5 separate regions of the Homo sapiens genome follow, and regions 1, 3, 4 and 5 are each linked to region 2. The links are contacts of gene promoters, found by promoter capture Hi-C in blood cells and fetal thymus (Javierre and others, 2016). All regions are on one chromosome and are shown on one strand. Each heading gives the region's core, a stretch centred on a gene start or on the middle of the fragment in contact. The rest is flanking DNA. Distances are from core to core; before and after follow the strand shown.

Region 1 (3,080 bases), core at 83-2,582, 560 kb before region 2:
TGGACTAGCCAAAGGTCTAAAAAGGAAAGGACTGGAAAACTGGAGACAAGGAAGTCTGGGGTAGAGGCATATGGATAAACATGGGAGTGAGCATGAAGGAAAAGCTTACGTCACATACAAGTGCCCACCAGAAAGCATCAACAGTAGAAGAGGAGCTGAACTGTCAAGTGCACAAAATGACTCAGCAAGTTGGATATTAGCCACCCTTCACCATCAGCCAGTCCAGAACTGACACAATGGGCACATAAACAGATGGGCCACAGTGTGAGAGATGGAGACTGCTCACGGGCCCAGAAGCATGGAATCCTACTTAACAAGGCCTTTATTGCTGCTACTAGCTCTGAAGGTCCAGTCTTCCAGTGAAAGAGACCAATGCTGAGACCCCAATATGGCACCATTTCTCCATGTTGGGTCCATTATCTCTTAGAAGAGACATCCATTCTTTCTTACAAGGACAGAAACCTATTCTGAGTATGGGTTTTCCTTTCCTCCTGGCAGAACTTCAGCTAACATCACTATCCAGGGGCTTTCAGAGTGCATGACCTGCAGACCTGGAATCCCACACAAGAAGGTATCCTACCAAGGGACACACTTCAGAGTGAAGGAGGTATGTGCATGAGCCCATGAGCATGGGATAGTCTGGTGTCACACTGTGCCACCCAGAAGCTACTAGCTTGATAGAGTGTTGGAATGGCCTTCTGGAGGTGTAGCTGGAGCACAGGCTTAGAGGCAATACCCTACAAGGATGAGGCGCCATCCTCCAGGATGCAGTATATGCACTGTGTCAGAGATGTCCATGTGGCACTGTGTCCCCAGTAGGAAGAATACATGGGTCTGGAAGCCATAGGGTGGAGGCCAAAGTGGCCTCACTTTCCATCTTTCCCAGTGACCTACTCAGGGGCCAACATTGTGCTTCCCATCTCCTTAAATCTAGGCTCTGCAGGGTAGAGGTTCTGGTTCTTTGCACTCTTATCAGGACATACAGCCTGGGTTCCAGTTGTACTTATAGCCACCACTGCTGCCTGGCATTTTGGGGTTCCTTGATTCCAGACACCAGCAAGCAGGAAGAATCATCATGGTGGTGGGAGTAATAGAGAATTATCAAGGAAGAGGTAAGACTGCTGTTATATAATAGAGGCAGAGAGGAATATGCTCGGGACTCAGATGATCTTTTCTAGTGACTTTTGGTACTCTTTTGCCTCATTGGCTGTAAGTGATCAAGTACAGTGTGAGTGGCCTAAGAAGGGTATGGATACGAGGGACTCAGACCACTCAGGGATGAAGGAAGCTGCCAAAACTGCAGAGGTTATAGTTGAGGGTGAGGGAAATCTAGAATGGATAGTGGAAGAGGGTAATCATAAATACCTGTTGCAGTTGCAGGACCAACTGCACTGATGGGGCTTGTACTTTGTCCCGCCAACTTCTCTCTTCTTCTTTTTCTTTTTTTTTTTTTTTTTTGAGACAGAGTCTCACTCTGTCACCCAGGCTGGAGTGCAGTGGTGCGATCTCTGCTCACTGCAAGCTCTGCCTCTCAGGTTCACACCATTCTCCTGCCTCAGCCTCCCGAGTAGCTGGGACTACAGGCCTGCCACCATGCCTGGCTAAATTTTTTTTTTTTTTTTGTATTTTTAGTAGGGACGGGATTTCACCGTGTTAGCCAGGATGGTCTTGATCTCCTGACCTCGTGATCTGCCCACCTCGGCCTCCCAAAGTGCTGGGATTACAGGCATGAGCCACCGCACCCGACTGCCAACTTCTAAGTTTACCTTCAGAAAGAGTGGCCCACAGGAGCCAAGGAGGAACTGCTTCCCGAGCAGCTATGGAGTAGTGGATCTGTGTGGCACAAAGGATGGCCTGTGGCAGCTATGGAAGTGCACTGCTTGGATGTCACTTTAAGAGAGGGCCTGTTATGAGGAGTGCAATTAGTTGACAGCATTCAGGTGGAATGTCTTCAGGGTCCAAGGCAGCATTTGAGGTGAGACCATGCTAGTTCCAGGCAGCTCCCTATCAGAGGCTTAGCACAGCAGGGTACTAGGGTCATTTTTGCTCAGTGTGGGACTCCTCTATGGGCCATCTTTGCATCAGAGCTCCCCGTTGGGCTGGCCAAGACTTTTTGAAAGCTGCACCACTGTCTGAGACTCTTCCTTCCAATCCTTCCTTCTCCCTCTCTTTCCACTTGTGTTAGACCCGCCCTGTGGTCTGAAGGTTCTTCCTGCCTCTTTCTGTGTCCTCTCCCCTTTATCTTCTGTGATAATTTTTTTGCACTTCTAACTCCATCTTGACTTCCTGGAGGACCTGAACTGATGCATTTGATTTGGTTTTAGAGACAGCGCCTCCTTATCCTCCCTCCTGGGGAGGGTAGGAGAAAAGCCAAAGCACTCTTTGCTCCTAAAAATTTCCTTTAAAAATAACCTCTGACATGTTTAATCTCTTCAATAGCCTCGATGGAATGGTGTTTGCTGAATGGGCTTTGCCATCATTTAGTAAACTCAGGGAGTTTGTTGAAGGAATTTGAGGGCTGATCAAGGAAAAAGATATGACTGCAAGGGGCAGTAACACAACAAGCTTTATTCGGTGGCACTTGGACAGGGTTGCATAAGAGGGAAAGTCCTCACAGCACAAGACTATCCAGAGGTTTATGGATGGGCTAAGAGGCCACCACCTGGAAGGGAAGGAAGGCAAAGGGACTCACAGGGCAGAGGAGGAACAAAGAGGGAGCTTATGTGTCTGGGTGAGGTCAATCGGTACCACGTTGGAGAGTCTCTGCATATGCAAAGCAAGCAGGCTTTAAATGGCTAAAAAACTGCTTATTTGGGATGTTTTAAAAATAATCAGGCTGGGTGCGGTGGCTCATGCCTGTAATCCCAGCATTCTGGGAGGCCGAGGTGGGCAGATTGCCTGAGCTCGGGAGTTCAAGACCACCCAGGGCAATGTGGTGAAACCCTGTCTCTACTAAAATACAAAAAATTAGCTGGGCGTGGTGGTGTGTGCCTGTAATCCCAGCAACTTGGGAGAATGAGGCAGTAGAATCGCTTGAGCCCAGGAGGTGGAGGTTGAAGTGAGCCGAGACCGTGCCACTG
Region 2 (3,295 bases), core at 16-2,515:
CCAATTTACACGGACCCTCCGAGCAGACGGTAGCAGATGAGGTGTCACTGCCATCCTTCCCTAATAATAACTTTGCAACTCTTCTTGCAAATTACAGTAAATTTACATATCACTGGGATGAACAGTCCTGCAGCAGTCCTCAGACTCTCCGCCCACCTTGGGTAGAAAGCACATCTGCCCAACCCTTCTCCCCCAAGCAGTAAAGGTAGGAAATAACTACCCGCCAACTAACAGTATCTCCTATCAAGATACTGTTGATGGGCCGGACGAGGTAGCTCACGCCTGTAATCCCAGCACTTTGGGAGGGCGAGGCAACTGGATCACCTGAGGCCAGGAGTTCAAGACCAGCCTGGCCAACATGGTGAAACCCCGTCTCTACTAAAAATACAAACATTAGCCGGGTACGGTGGCACACACCTGTAATTCCAGCTACTCGGAAGCGTGAGGAAGGATAATTGCTTTAGTCCGGGAGACGGAGGTTGCAGTGAGCCGAGATCACGCCACTGCACTCCAGCCTGGCCAACAGAGCGAGACTCCGTCTCGAAAAAAAAAAAAATACTGTTGATGGCTGGATGGAAACGATGTTTCTACAGAGATCTTAGCTTAATCACCTCGCCTGGGAAGCGCGGAGCCCAACACTACTGTGGATGTCCTGGCAGGGTTCGGAACAGGAGCTGCAAGCAGCCTAGGTCCCCGGAGTGACAGGAACCCTCGGACAGCGTTCTCCAAAAGGCTCCGCGCGACTAAGCGCCATAAAGTCTACCGGAGTGCAGGGCCGCGGGTGCCGGCAGAAGGCGTGGCGCACTGCGCAGAGCTGCGGGCGCCCGGGCCGGTCTCCGCCTCGCTGGAGGCCCAACCCGGCCACGTCCTCTCCTAGGGCCTGCACACCGGTCCACGCCATGGGGATACCTCGCGGCTCACTGCTCAGCACACCGGGCGCGGCGCAAAGGCGGAGGTCCTCAGCCCCGAGCAGGGCTTCCCGGCCTCTGCTACGGTGAGCACTCCAGAAGGCCGGCCTGGCCAGCCGGGCCCGCTCCGCGAAGCGGGCCGCGGCGCCGCCTGTCCTGGCCTCCCCCGGCCGCGGTTACCTGCCTCCATGATGAACCTCGCCACTCGGAAGTGCACCCTGGCTTCGGGCGCCGGCTGCCCCTCCGGGCCCCGCGCTGCAGGCCCCCCTCCGCCGCCCTCCGGGGCTTCCATGAGGCGCCGCGGCACCGGCGGAAGGAGAGGCGGCCCCGGCGCGCAGAAGCCGGCAGAACTGGAGGTGCTCGCGGCGGGCGCTGCCGCCCCACCCGGCCGCGTCCGGCCCCGCCCCGCCCCGCCCCTCGCCGCCCCGCCCCGCCCCTCGCCGCCCCGCCCCGCCCCTCGCCGCCCCGCCGCTCCTCCGCCCCGCCCCGCCCCTCAGGGCCCTCGCCCAAGGGTGAGCGCGCGCTTGCGCCACAGACGCTGCCTGGCCGCGCGCGCAGGCGCAGGCGCAGGCGCAGAGGCCGACACCACGGGGCGGCTGGTATGTGTCCACCGGCCCCTAGGCGCCTCGAGCCCCGCCCCTGGGAGACGCAGGCTCCTCCCCGCGGAGCGAGAGCCCGCGGAGCTGCTCCGAGACCCGCGGGAGGGCACCTCCGGTCACCCGAGCCGCAAATCCCCGCCGTCCGAAGGGGGTGTCGCCCCGGGCTGTCGGCCCAGCGTGGCTTAGGCCAGGTACAACCGGCAGCGCCCGCCAAGCCCTGGGCTAGGGACGCCTGCGGGAGTTCACGGGGAGGCGCCGGTGTCTGAGGTCTGAGAAGACAGCGGCCACCGGAAAAGGTGCTAATGTTTGCAGACCCCGATCCATCGACACCCCAAGGAAATGCTGTGCACAAAATTCCAAGAGGGCCTTTTCGAATAGACGCATGAACGGTGTTTGTGTCTGGATCGTCCAGCCTCCCGGGATCGATTGGGAATCTAGCTTCTGCTTGCCTTTCCAGCGCGACGCACAGTAGGAGCCTAATAAATGTTTGCTGAATGAATGCTGAATATCGAACTCAGGTATTTACCATCTCATTTTTCATTCGCGTCTTCCACAAGCAGGAAATGGTGCATCAGGCTTTAGGGACATAGAACCCCAAAGGTACTCACTCCCAAGTTAGTGACAGTCACTGGAGTCATTCTGATACATTCAGATCATTGCTACAATTTCAGACAGCTGGCAATATGGAGAGGAAAAAGCTACTGCTCCCTAAACCCTTCTGCCCAGGCGCCTTGATCTCCTGATGGTGTGGAAGTCTCCACCTCTTACCCCCACCCCACACACCCAGTCCGGCCTCATTCTCCTTCCTCAGCACTTCCTGCCTCCACCAGCCTCCCCAAGTCCTCTCTCCATCCCAGCTGGGTTAGTTTCCTGGGGCTGCTGTAACAAATGACCACAAATTGGGTTGCTAAAAACAGCAGAAGTATATCCTCTCTCAATTCTGGAGGCCAGACACCTGAAATGGAGGTGACACTAGGGCTTTGCTCCCTCAAAGGCTCTGGCAGAGGATCAGTTCTTCCTTGCTCTTCCAGCTTCTGCAGCCTGAGTTCTTCCTGGGCTTGTGGCCCCATCACTCCAATCTGTGCCTCCGTCTCTACATGGCCTTCTCCCTGTCTTCTCGTCTGTCTCTTATAAGCACACCTGTCACTGGATTAGGGCCTACCTAGATAATCCAGGAGGAGCTCATCTTGACATCCTTATTTTCATTACATCTTGCAAAGGCCCTTCTGCTAAATAAGGTCACAGTAACAGGGATTAGGACACGGACACACCTTTTGGGGGCTGGCATTCACCCCACAATACCAGCCGCCAGAGCGAGCTTTCTAAAAGGCGAGGCTGAACAGGTCCTGCCCTGCCTAACACCCTCCGGAGTCCCTTCACCTTCAGGAGAAAATGTGAGGCCTTGACCTCACATGCTGGTCCTTGTGGAGTCACCCTATCAACTGACCAGCCTCGGATCTCACCACTTTGCCTCATGGCAGAGACCTTCGGCAGGTCCCCCAAAGGTTATGGTCTCCTGGCTGAACGTCTCTGCACGTATTCTGCCTGGTGAAGGAATTACCACTCCACTTCCATCACCCAGCTTGCTCTTGTCTGTATGTGCGCGGGTGTGCACGTGTGTGTGCATATGTGTGCGTGTGTGGACTGACTCAGGGTCCCCAGCTCCCTGTGCTGCTGACACCTGCCACGCCTTGAGCACCGTGTCTGTCTGCAAGCTGTGAGCAGCCCCACCCTCTTCCCCAGCCCAAGGCTGAAACCTAGGCAATGCCCAGAGGGCCCACCTCCCCT
Region 3 (3,061 bases), core at 562-3,061, 540 kb before region 2:
CACTGGTTTCAAGGGCAAAGGTTAACTCCAATATAAAGGAGTTCTAAAACTTTTCAAATTGGACATATTCACATCTATTGTCTTGATACCAGTGTTTCCAAATCCTTTTTTCCCAATGCCCAGAACATCCACAGATCACTGCGTCTGTCTGGGAACTTCACAGGCTTCTTTCCGGAGACATTCCAGACACGCCCCTCTGCCTTGGCATGAATACTTGGCATCTCCCCTTGACATCTCAAGCTTTGTCATTTACTCACTGTGTGACCTTGGGCCAGTAGTGTCCCTTCTCTGAACCTCTGTTTCCACCCCTGCAAGTTGGGCAGATGAAGGTTCAGTTTGAAGCTGGTTGAGCCCTTGGAGTGACAAAGCAAGGGACTGTGAATGGACAAAAATGAGAGAAATAAATTCTAATAGGCATGAAGCAACCAGGGGAGAAATAGTCCCAATTCTACCCAAAGACTGATGGGCACTAATTTAGAATCCAGTCTCAATTCTACCTTCAATACGGTGTGTGACCTTGAAAATGTCTCTTAATCTCTCTGAGCCTCATGAGTCAAATCAGGATAATGTTAATACCTGCTTCAGAGTTCTGGTGAGGAGCAAATGAAATAACTCCTGTAAAGATGTTTCAGGAATTCTGTCTGACCAGGAAAAAGCCCTTGGGGCCATTTCTTCTTGGTCCCTGACAAGTGCCAGGCTGACGAGCAGAACTCAGGGTGGGGCAGGAAGTCAGTGGACAGTTTTGTGCCCCACTCACTGCAAGGTGGCCTCCCAGACTTGGCTGGATGGGTGAACCTGGCCTGAAAATCAACCACAAGCCCCTTTTCGTTGTGTTTGGAGAGGAGCTGAAGCTGTGTGAATAGGAGTTGAGCATGCGGCTGGCAGAGCAGGCAGGACCCACAGAACACCTGGGCCCACTGCCTGAGGGACAGTCACTCCCTTCTTCATTTGGCTGCTGCCCTGGGATCAAACGGATACAATAGAACCCACGGCGCACGGCTGCCAAGGAAGGGCAGGCCCAAGGGATTGGGCTCCAAGTCCTGGAAGTGGTTTCCCAAGTCACTAGATTTGCAGCGCACAAAACCGGAAAGGTCCCGGTAAACCTGTCCACTGGCACCTGGGCAGCGAAGCGCTTTGGCCGGAGGGCCTCAGGTCCCAGCAGCGGGATGGACAGCGGGGAGATGGCTGACCCTCCTTGGGGTGGTGTGCGTGACCTGCATGAGTGCCTGGGGCATCTCCTGCACGGAATGGCACCCGCACCAGGTGCCCCTGGCCTCGCCAGCCAGAGGACCAGTCCTGGACGGGGAGGGGGAGGACAAGAGCAGGTGAACAGGCCCCAGAACCCGGCTCCCTGACCCTGGCCATAATGCAGAGCTGCCTGGCGCACCTCAGACCACTCCCTGGCCCTCTGGTGGGCACGCCGGGGTGCAGACCCCTCGCCCCGCTGGCACCTCCGTGGCACGTGCGGGAGGGGCAGGAGCCGGGACCAGGAACCGCTGTGGTGAGAGCCAAAGGCACGGGGACTGGCCGCCACAGACCTTTGGCCACCGCAGTGGGGATGGGGGTGGGCGGGCGCTTGTGTGCCCGGGGGCCCGGGGGCCCCCGTGGCGGGGGGGCTAGGGGAGAGGAGCAGGTGACGTCACCCGGGGACCTGGGGCCCCCAGGGGCGGCGGCGAGAGCCCGACCTCGTGACCCGTCCGCGCCAATGGCCCTGCGGTCTCCCGGACGACGCGGAGGGGTCCGCGCTGCACCGCCGCCGCGCCCCCGCCCCGTGTCCGCACTGCAGAGAGCCGCGGCGAGCAGGCGCCGGCGCACTGGCCCACGTGCTGCGCGAGCGAGGGAGAGCCACAGTCTGAGCGAACGTCCGCGCTGGGAGCCAGGGGTGCCCGACCCCCGTCCGCCGCCGCCGCCGCCGCCGCGCATAGCCCCCGGAGAGCCCTCTGGGGACCCCGACCAGAAGGGACCTTGCCCTGGGAGAAGGTAACAGACCCACCTGGGGAGGGAGACGCTGGGCCCCGGGAGACTCCGCCGCCCCTCGCCTGTCCGCCCTATCAGAACTGAAGCAGCCTGCAGGGCAGGGGTCCAGGGTCCTGGGGCAGCGCGGGGAGGGGGCTGAGGCCCGCAGAGACCCCACGGGGGGTGGGGGTGGGGGGCTGGGCAGGGGCGGGGCCTGGCTGCAGAGGCGCCGCCCGGGGAGGAGGGCGGCTGGGGGTGGGGGTGGGGGTGGGCGTGGATGTGGGCGTGCGGAGAGGTGGGCATTAACCTCGCTCTCGCCCTGCTCGCATTCACAGGCTGTGGAGACCTGGGCCTTCTGCGATCACCCTAGGAGTTGATCCAGATATGTGCCTCACGCCCTGATCACTCCCCCCAAATTAGTATCCGCAGAGATTCGAGGACATGCCGTTGACCTTGTTACAGGACTGGTGTCGGGGGGAACACCTGAACACCCGGAGGTGCATGCTCATCCTGGGGATCCCCGAGGACTGTGGCGAGGATGAGTTTGAGGAGACACTCCAGGAGGCTTGCAGGCACCTGGGCAGATACAGGGTGATTGGCAGGATGTTTAGGAGGGAGGAGAACGCCCAGGCGATTCTACTGGAGCTGGCACAAGATATCGACTATGCTTTGCTCCCAAGGGAAATACCAGGAAAGGGGGGGCCCTGGGAAGTGATTGTAAAACCCCGTAACTCAGATGGGGAATTTCTCAACAGACTGAACCGCTTCTTAGAGGAGGAGAGGCGGACCGTGTCAGATATGAACCGAGTCCTCGGGTCGGACACCAATTGTTCGGCTCCAAGAGTGACTATATCACCAGAGTTCTGGACCTGGGCCCAGACTCTGGGGGCAGCAGTGCAGCCTCTGCTAGAACAAATGTTGTACCGAGAACTAAGAGTGTTTTCTGGGAACACCATATCCATCCCAGGTGCACTGGCCTTTGATGCCTGGCTTGAGCACACCACTGAGATGCTACAGATGTGGCAGGTGCCCGAGGGGGAAAAGAGGCGGAGGCTGATGGAATGCTTACGGGGCCCTGCTCTCCAGGTGGTCAGTGGGCTCCGGG
Region 4 (3,291 bases), core at 716-3,215, 600 kb before region 2:
TCTCTACAAAAAAAATTTAAAAAGTGTCTGGGTGTGATGGCACATGCCTGTGGTCCCAGCTACTCCTGAGGCTGAGGTAGGAGGATTGCTTCAGCTCGGGAGGTTGAGGCTATACTGAGCTGTGACTGCACTCCAGCCTGGCCAACAGAATGAGACCCTGTCTCAAAAAACAAACAAAAAAAGATTTCACATACAAGAGCATGCAATGTTTGGCTTCCTGTGTCTGGTTTATTTCACTTAGCATAATATCCTCAAGGTTCATTCATGTTATTGCCAAGGGCAGCATTTCCTTCTTTTTTTAAGGCTGCTTGTGAATATATATATATATATATATAAATAAAACATATATAAAACATATATATGTTATATATATAACATATATATGTTATATATATAATATGAATATATAATATATGATATGAATATATAGTATATTCATATTATATATAATATATATAATAAAGAAAATTATATATAATATATATAATATATAATACATATACTATATAATATATATAAAATATATATATAATATATATAAATAATATATATATAAATATATGTTATATATATTATATATAAAATATATATAAATATATATTATATATATTATATATAATATATATATAATATATAATATATATAATATATAAAATATATATTATATAATATATATTATATTATATATTAAATATTATATAAAAATATATATAAGACATTTATATATAATATATTATATATATTATATATAATATATATAATATAGATATATAAAAAACATTTTCTTTATCCATTCATCTGTCAGTGGTCACTTAGGTTGTTTTCTTATCTTAGCTATTGTGAATAATGCTGAAATGGACAAGAGAGTCCAGATACCACTTAGAGATAGTGATTTTATTTGCTTAGGATATCTATCCATAGTGGAATTGCTGGATCATACAGTAGCATACATGGACAATTAATTTTCAACAAAGCTGCCAAGAATACACAATGAGGAAAGTGAGATGGAGCAGGGACCCCGTCTCAGGGGTCTGCAGGCCCCCTTAAGCATATAAATAAAGGAAAATGTTGAGTTCTTTCAGGGGCAATGCCAGGCACCTAGCTAGCCCTGAGAAGTAAATAAGCAAGTTGATAAGCAAGAAGGTAATAGCTTAAAACAACAGCCAAGGAAGCTACAATCACAGGATGTTTTCTTTCCCTATAGAAACTAAAGATAACATGTTAACATATATCTCTGAGTTGTTTTTCAGAAACTTGGATCCCCACCAAACTGATCAGCTGGCATGCAGACCCCAGAAAAGGGGGAGCTGAGGACTGAACTCTGACCACCACTCTTTGTTCCAAACTTCTTCATGAGGGGCCTGGAGGAAATCACATCCATCTGTCAGAGCTAATATTCTTTTCTGCTGACCCAAAAATTTTAAACAAAGCTTCTCTTGCTTAACCAACTGCAAACCAAAAGACCTTTGAACCTACTTATGGCCTGTAAGCCCTCACTTCAAGATATCCCACCCTTTTAGGCCAAAACCAATGGGTAACCTCTGTGTAATGATTTATGAATTAGCCTGTAACTTCTGCTTTCCTGAAATTTACTCCTACCTTTAAAAGCCCTTACCTGCAAGCCATCACGGAGCTCTGGATTTGAGCGTTAGCTGCCTGATCCTCCTTGCTTAGTGCCCTGCAAATAAATGTCTTCCTTTCCACCACTGCAAACCTCAGTGTGGATATCTGATCTTACTGTGATGGGCAAGACAACTCCAGTTCAGTTCAATAACACTTGGCCACAACTCAAAAGCCCTGAGTGGGTGTCTTGCCAATAGCATATCAGCCCCTGGCTATGAGCACCCTTGGACCCTGTCCAGTAGCTGCCTGAATTATTTTATTCAGGGATGGATCTGTGTATTTGGCTGCCACCAAGGCATCACTGGCTTGTGTTGCTTTTACTTTTGCAGCATTAGAAATGAGACACTTGGCTGGGAAGACATTTTTTGGCAGGTGACAAATTTGTGGGCAATAGCCCCAAGGTATATTTTCTTCAAACACTACGTTCTGCATTGGCAGGACATCTGGCCTTGCTTTGGCAATTTACGGGACTCTGCTTCATCATAGTGTGTTTAGTAGGGAATACTCCATAAGCAACTGAAGGGATGGAGACTTTGAGAAATCACATTTTGATTTTGATTTGCTTGCTTGACAATCTGCCTAAAGCCCAGCTGAGGCATTAAGGGTTTTTCACCTAAGGTCTTGTCATCTAAAATGGAAACTACAAATTATGTTCCTCCTTGTAGCCCATTATGGTGCATTCTGCAGAATCGGGCCATTTTTAGCTTTGAGCCCATGAAAAAGAAAAATGTTTTTAATGTTGAAATTCTGCCTGACCACGGTATCCCCTAGGATCCAGGGAATGGTAGCCAGAATTTAGATATCTAAATTACATTATAATTTTTCAATTAGAATTGTTTTGTGAACAAGAAGGTAAATGGGATGAAATTCTGAATGTACAAGCTTTTATGCTTTTGTACCAAAGTGAGCTAATTCAAAGAAGGTATAATTTGCATAGAATCATGGTTGAAAGAAATGCCTCTAAGGTGAAAGAGGTAAAGGTTTTACCCGGTTCTCAAAAATCAGAAGATGACTTACTACTTCAACAAATGAATGCACCAATCCTATCTCTCCACCTTATGGGGGGCGAGATATGGAAGCCAGAGCAATGGCCCCGCCCCCCTGCTCAGGCAGGAATGGGAGCCCCTATTACCCTGGCTGGACTGGGGAATAATAGTGACGTAAACAGGCCAGGAGTGCTCTCTCCTTCACACACCTGACAGGGCACTCAATATCGTCAGGGAGCCACTCTGGTTGAGGTAGGGCAATTCCATTAGGCAAGTACCCATTGGCAGAATCAATGCCCAGGGTCAGCCAGCGGGACCTGTGTGGGTACACGTGCCATTCTCAGTCTCTGACCTATACCATTGGAAGGATAACATGCTTACCTACTGGGGTGACCCAAGGAGGATGGAAAATGTGTTCTCCATTTACACTACTCATAATCCTAACTGGGAGAATGTGCAATATTTACAAAATGCACTACTTACCTCCAAAGAGTGGAGAATAGTTTTAGAAAAAGCTAGAGAAGAAGCTGACCAGTAACATACTGAGACTGCCAGCAATCTGGTCTGGGCAGCTACTGCTGAGGCTATAGCCTAACACAAGCAGTCTTAGCTCCTCCCAGCCTCCCATTGGCCCAAGTGTCTGGGCTTTAAGATGTTCTCAATAATATTGGTGGTGTGTTTT
Region 5 (3,290 bases), core at 682-3,181, 620 kb before region 2:
GGGAACTGCCCCCATTATCCAGTCACCTCCCTCTCTCAACATGTGGGAATTATGGCTCCCTCCCTTGACGTGTGGGGATTACAATTCGTGATTAGATTTGGATGGGGACACAGAGCCAAACCATATCAGGTCCATTCCCTTTGCTAGGCCTCTAGGCCCATTCTGCCTTTCCTTCCACCTCACTGGTCACTCCTTTTCTATCTCCATTGCTGGTTCTTTCTCATCATCCCATTCTCTCAACTTTGGAGTACTCTAGGACTTTGTTCTTAGACCCCTTCGCTTTTCTATCTGCACTCACTGCGTTGTATCACTGGGGTCCAGGCTTCAACAGATACAGTATACACTGCCTCCTTCTGGAATTGCAGCTGCTCCAGCCCACATCATCTTCCTGAACTTCAGACTTGTGTTTCAACTTCCCACAGCTCATTTCCACCTGGGGAGTCTAATTGTCATTTCATACTCAACCATGGAAGCCATGCTCTATGCATTGCCATCCACAGCTCCGTAAATGGCAGTCCCATTCTTCAGCTTGCATAGACCAAAACCTACACATCACCTGCTGATCTCCCACTGCACTTCCAGCCCATCAGCCTAGCCTGTTAACTCTCCCTGCCAAACAGATCCAGAGGCAAACCATTTCTCCCCACCTTCACCATAAACATATTGTCCCCTAATCCCCCATGTGGATGATTACAATAACCTAAGCAATCATCTTTCCTTCCTTCCCACCCTGAAGTGTACCCCAGCATGGCTGCAAGAGTGAAGAGTTTCAATCCGATCACATCCCTCTTCTGCTCCATACCTTCCCCAGGCCTCATTTTACTTGGACTAAAAGCCAGAGTCCTCAAGGTGGCTGGCCAAGCAGGTGCTGCTTTATCCAGCCCCCACCACCTTTCCTTCTTACTCATACCATTCCAGGCATTCTCTGGCCTTGAGCTGTGTGCTGGTTGTCTCTTCTGCCTGGAATGCTCATCTCCCAGATGCCCACGTGGCCATCTCCCTTGCGTCCTTCACATCTCTGCTCAGATGCTACCTTCTTCCTGATCACCTTCATGGACCATCCAATTTAAAATTCTGTGCACACCCATAACACTCCTTATACCTGCTTCCTTGCTTTTTCTCTGTAGCACTTATCACAATCTAACATACTACATGTTTTCTTCTTATTTTATTGTTTGTATTTCCTTACTTAAATGAAATCTCCATGAGAGATTTTTGTCCTTTTGCTCCACTGCTGAATTCCCAGTGCCTATAATAGTGCCCTGCACATAGTAGGTGCTCAGTAAATGTTGACTAAATGAATGCATAAAATAGATGATTTCAGACAAGTTCTGTAAAATTATAAAGCAGAACGAGCTAGAGCTCTGGTCTCCACATGCTAAATATGGTCTCCACATCCCACGTTAGGCTACTTGTGTTTAAATAGAAATCAACTAAAATACATTTTTAAAATCCAGTTTCTCAGTCACACTAGCTCCATTTCAAGTGCCTAGTAACCACACATGGCTAGAGACTACCCTGTTGGGCAGCACAGGCCTAGAATATTTCCATTCCCACAAGTTTTCCAGGTAGAGGGGCCAGTAAGGGCAGAGGCCCTGAGATAAGATTAAGAGCCAGGTGTGTTTGAGGGACTAGCCAGCGGGGCTAGAGGGTGGTAAACACACAGCAGAGTGGGGGCCAGATCATGTAGGGTTTGCAGGCCATGGTTAGAAGTTTGAGTTTTAGTCTAAGTGATATGGGAAGCCATCCATGGCTTCTGAGCAAAGAAATGATGTCATTTGATTTCTGATTTTTAAAAATCACTATGAGTTATATTTGGAGAATGGACTATAGAGGAGCAAGAGGAGAGAGAGAGGAGGCTATTGCACTGCAAGTATCAGTGACGGTGGCCTGGACAATGATGGCAGTGGTAGAGATAGAAGTGGATGGAGTTTACATGTATTTGGAAGTAGAACTGCAGTACTTGCTGATAATGGAATATGAATCTATGAGGGAAAGAGAAGAAGACAAACTGAGTCTAGTTTTGGAATCAGAGCAATTGGGTAGATGGTGATGCCAGTATCTTGGGTGAGCTTATGAGCAGTTTGGCACTGATTGAATGGTGTGGCTTGGGAGCCAGAGTTTTGTGTTAGGAAAATTGGTATTGAGATGTTCTGTTGCCCAAGTGGAGATGTGGGTTAGGCACTTTGACATATAAGCCTAGAGCTTAAGAGGGAACTGGGCTTAGAAGCAGCCTGCCAATGATAATGAAAGCATGGACAGGCTGAGATCACCAAGGAAGTGAATGTAGATAGTAAAGAGAAGAGGACCCAGGGCACTGAGTCCTGCGGAGAATCAAGCAGAGAAGGAGGAATCAGAAAACTCTATCAGGAGAGGCCAGTGAAGTAGGAGGAAACCCGAAGCATGTGGTATCCCAGGAGCCAAGGGGAAAAAGTGCTTCATGAGGGAAGAATAGTCACCTGGGTCAAAATCTACTGAGATGTTGGTGTAAATAAGATGAGGACAGAGAATTGACCTTTGGATTCATCAAGATTGAGGTTGTTTGGTCACTTTGTTGAGTCCTTTCAGTAGCAGAATGGGTGAAACCAGTGTTTCAGAGAATCAAGGAGAGCATGGGAGCTGAGAAAGTGTGGGTGGTAGGCATAGACAAGTCTGAGCTTTGCCATGAAGTGGAACAGAAGAACAGAGTGAGAGGTAGAGGGATGTGCTAGTTAATTGTATGTGTCAACTTGACTGGGATAAGGGATGCTCAGATAGCTGGTAAAAACATTATTTCTGGGTGTGTCTGTGAGGGTGTTTCCAGGAGAGATAGCATTTCTATCAGTACAATGAATAAAGATCACCCTCACCAGTGTAGGAAGGCATCATCCAGTTGTTTGAGGGGCCAAATAGAACAAAAAGATGGAGGGAGAGCAAATTCTTTCTCTCGCTCTCTCTCTCTCTCTCGCTCGCTCATTCTCTCTTTCTCTCTCTTCTTGAGCTGAAACATCTATCTTCTCCTGTCCTCAGACATCAGAGCTCCTGGATCTAAGGCTTTCAGACTCCAAGGTGTACACCAATGGGCCGCGCTCCCCACTCCTTTAGCTTTGGATTAGAAGTAACACCATAAACTCCCCTGGATCTCAGGCCTTTGAACTTGGACTGAATTATTCCACCATCTTTCTCTATTCTACAGCTTGCAGATGGCATATCATAGAATTTGTTGGCCTCCATAATCATGTGTGCCAATTCCCAAAATAATATATCTATCAGCTCCTACTGGTTTTGCTTTTCTGGAGTGCTCTGATTAA

What was found. The method cuts DNA at HindIII sites, captures the fragments that hold promoters and counts their contacts. A CHiCAGO score of 5 or more calls a contact.
Region 1: a fragment that was not itself captured here is called in contact with the fragment with the promoter of CCNQ in region 2 in 6 of 17 cell types (naive B cells, monocytes, activated CD4 T cells and 3 more); the score reaches 7.2 in naive B cells.
Region 3: a contact is called between the fragment with the promoter of PNMA3 here and the fragment with the promoter of CCNQ in region 2, in 4 of 17 cell types (M1 macrophages, non-activated CD4 T cells, naive CD4 T cells and 1 more). The highest score is 6.7, in M1 macrophages.
Region 4: a contact is called between a fragment that was not itself captured here and the fragment with the promoter of CCNQ in region 2, in 7 of 17 cell types (naive CD8 T cells, total CD4 T cells, erythroblasts and 4 more). The highest score is 8.5, in naive CD8 T cells.
Region 5: a contact is called between a fragment that was not itself captured here and the fragment with the promoter of CCNQ in region 2, in 3 of 17 cell types (naive CD8 T cells, total CD4 T cells and naive CD4 T cells). The highest score is 7.7, in naive CD8 T cells.

Annotation. Positions count from the first base shown.
Region 1 is chrX:153,037,175-153,040,254 of GRCh38, forward strand. No RefSeq gene overlaps it. Among named protein-coding and RNA genes, the nearest start is that of PNMA3, 18 kb to the right of the region's middle. The HindIII fragment of the contact is 2,461 bases long and covers 103-2,563 here.
Region 2 is chrX:153,597,874-153,601,168 of GRCh38, forward strand. It overlaps CCNQ (cyclin Q), which reads right to left and starts at 1,266. Exons shown (of 5, transcript NM_152274.5): 1 at 1,089-1,266. The coding sequence starts at 1,200. LOC105373383 (a long non-coding RNA gene) reads left to right here and starts at 1,467. Exons shown (of 1, transcript NR_131982.1): 1 at 1,467-2,020. RefSeq lists silencers at 977-1,336, 1,347-1,396, 1,497-1,636 and enhancers at 2,777-3,278, 3,279-3,295. The HindIII fragment of the contact is 8,000 bases long and covers 1-3,295 here.
Region 3 is chrX:153,054,659-153,057,719 of GRCh38, forward strand. PNMA3 (PNMA family member 3) reads left to right here and starts at 1,812. Exons shown (of 2, transcript NM_013364.6): 1 at 1,812-1,980; 2 at 2,292-3,061. The coding sequence starts at 2,398. The HindIII fragment of the contact is 3,087 bases long and covers 239-3,061 here.
Region 4 is chrX:152,998,020-153,001,310 of GRCh38, forward strand. No RefSeq gene overlaps it. Among named protein-coding and RNA genes, the nearest start is that of PNMA5, 5.5 kb to the left of the region's middle. The HindIII fragment of the contact is 1,075 bases long and covers 1,429-2,503 here.
Region 5 is chrX:152,978,628-152,981,917 of GRCh38, forward strand. No RefSeq gene overlaps it. Among named protein-coding and RNA genes, the nearest start is that of PNMA5, 14 kb to the right of the region's middle. The HindIII fragment of the contact is 5,734 bases long and covers 1-3,290 here.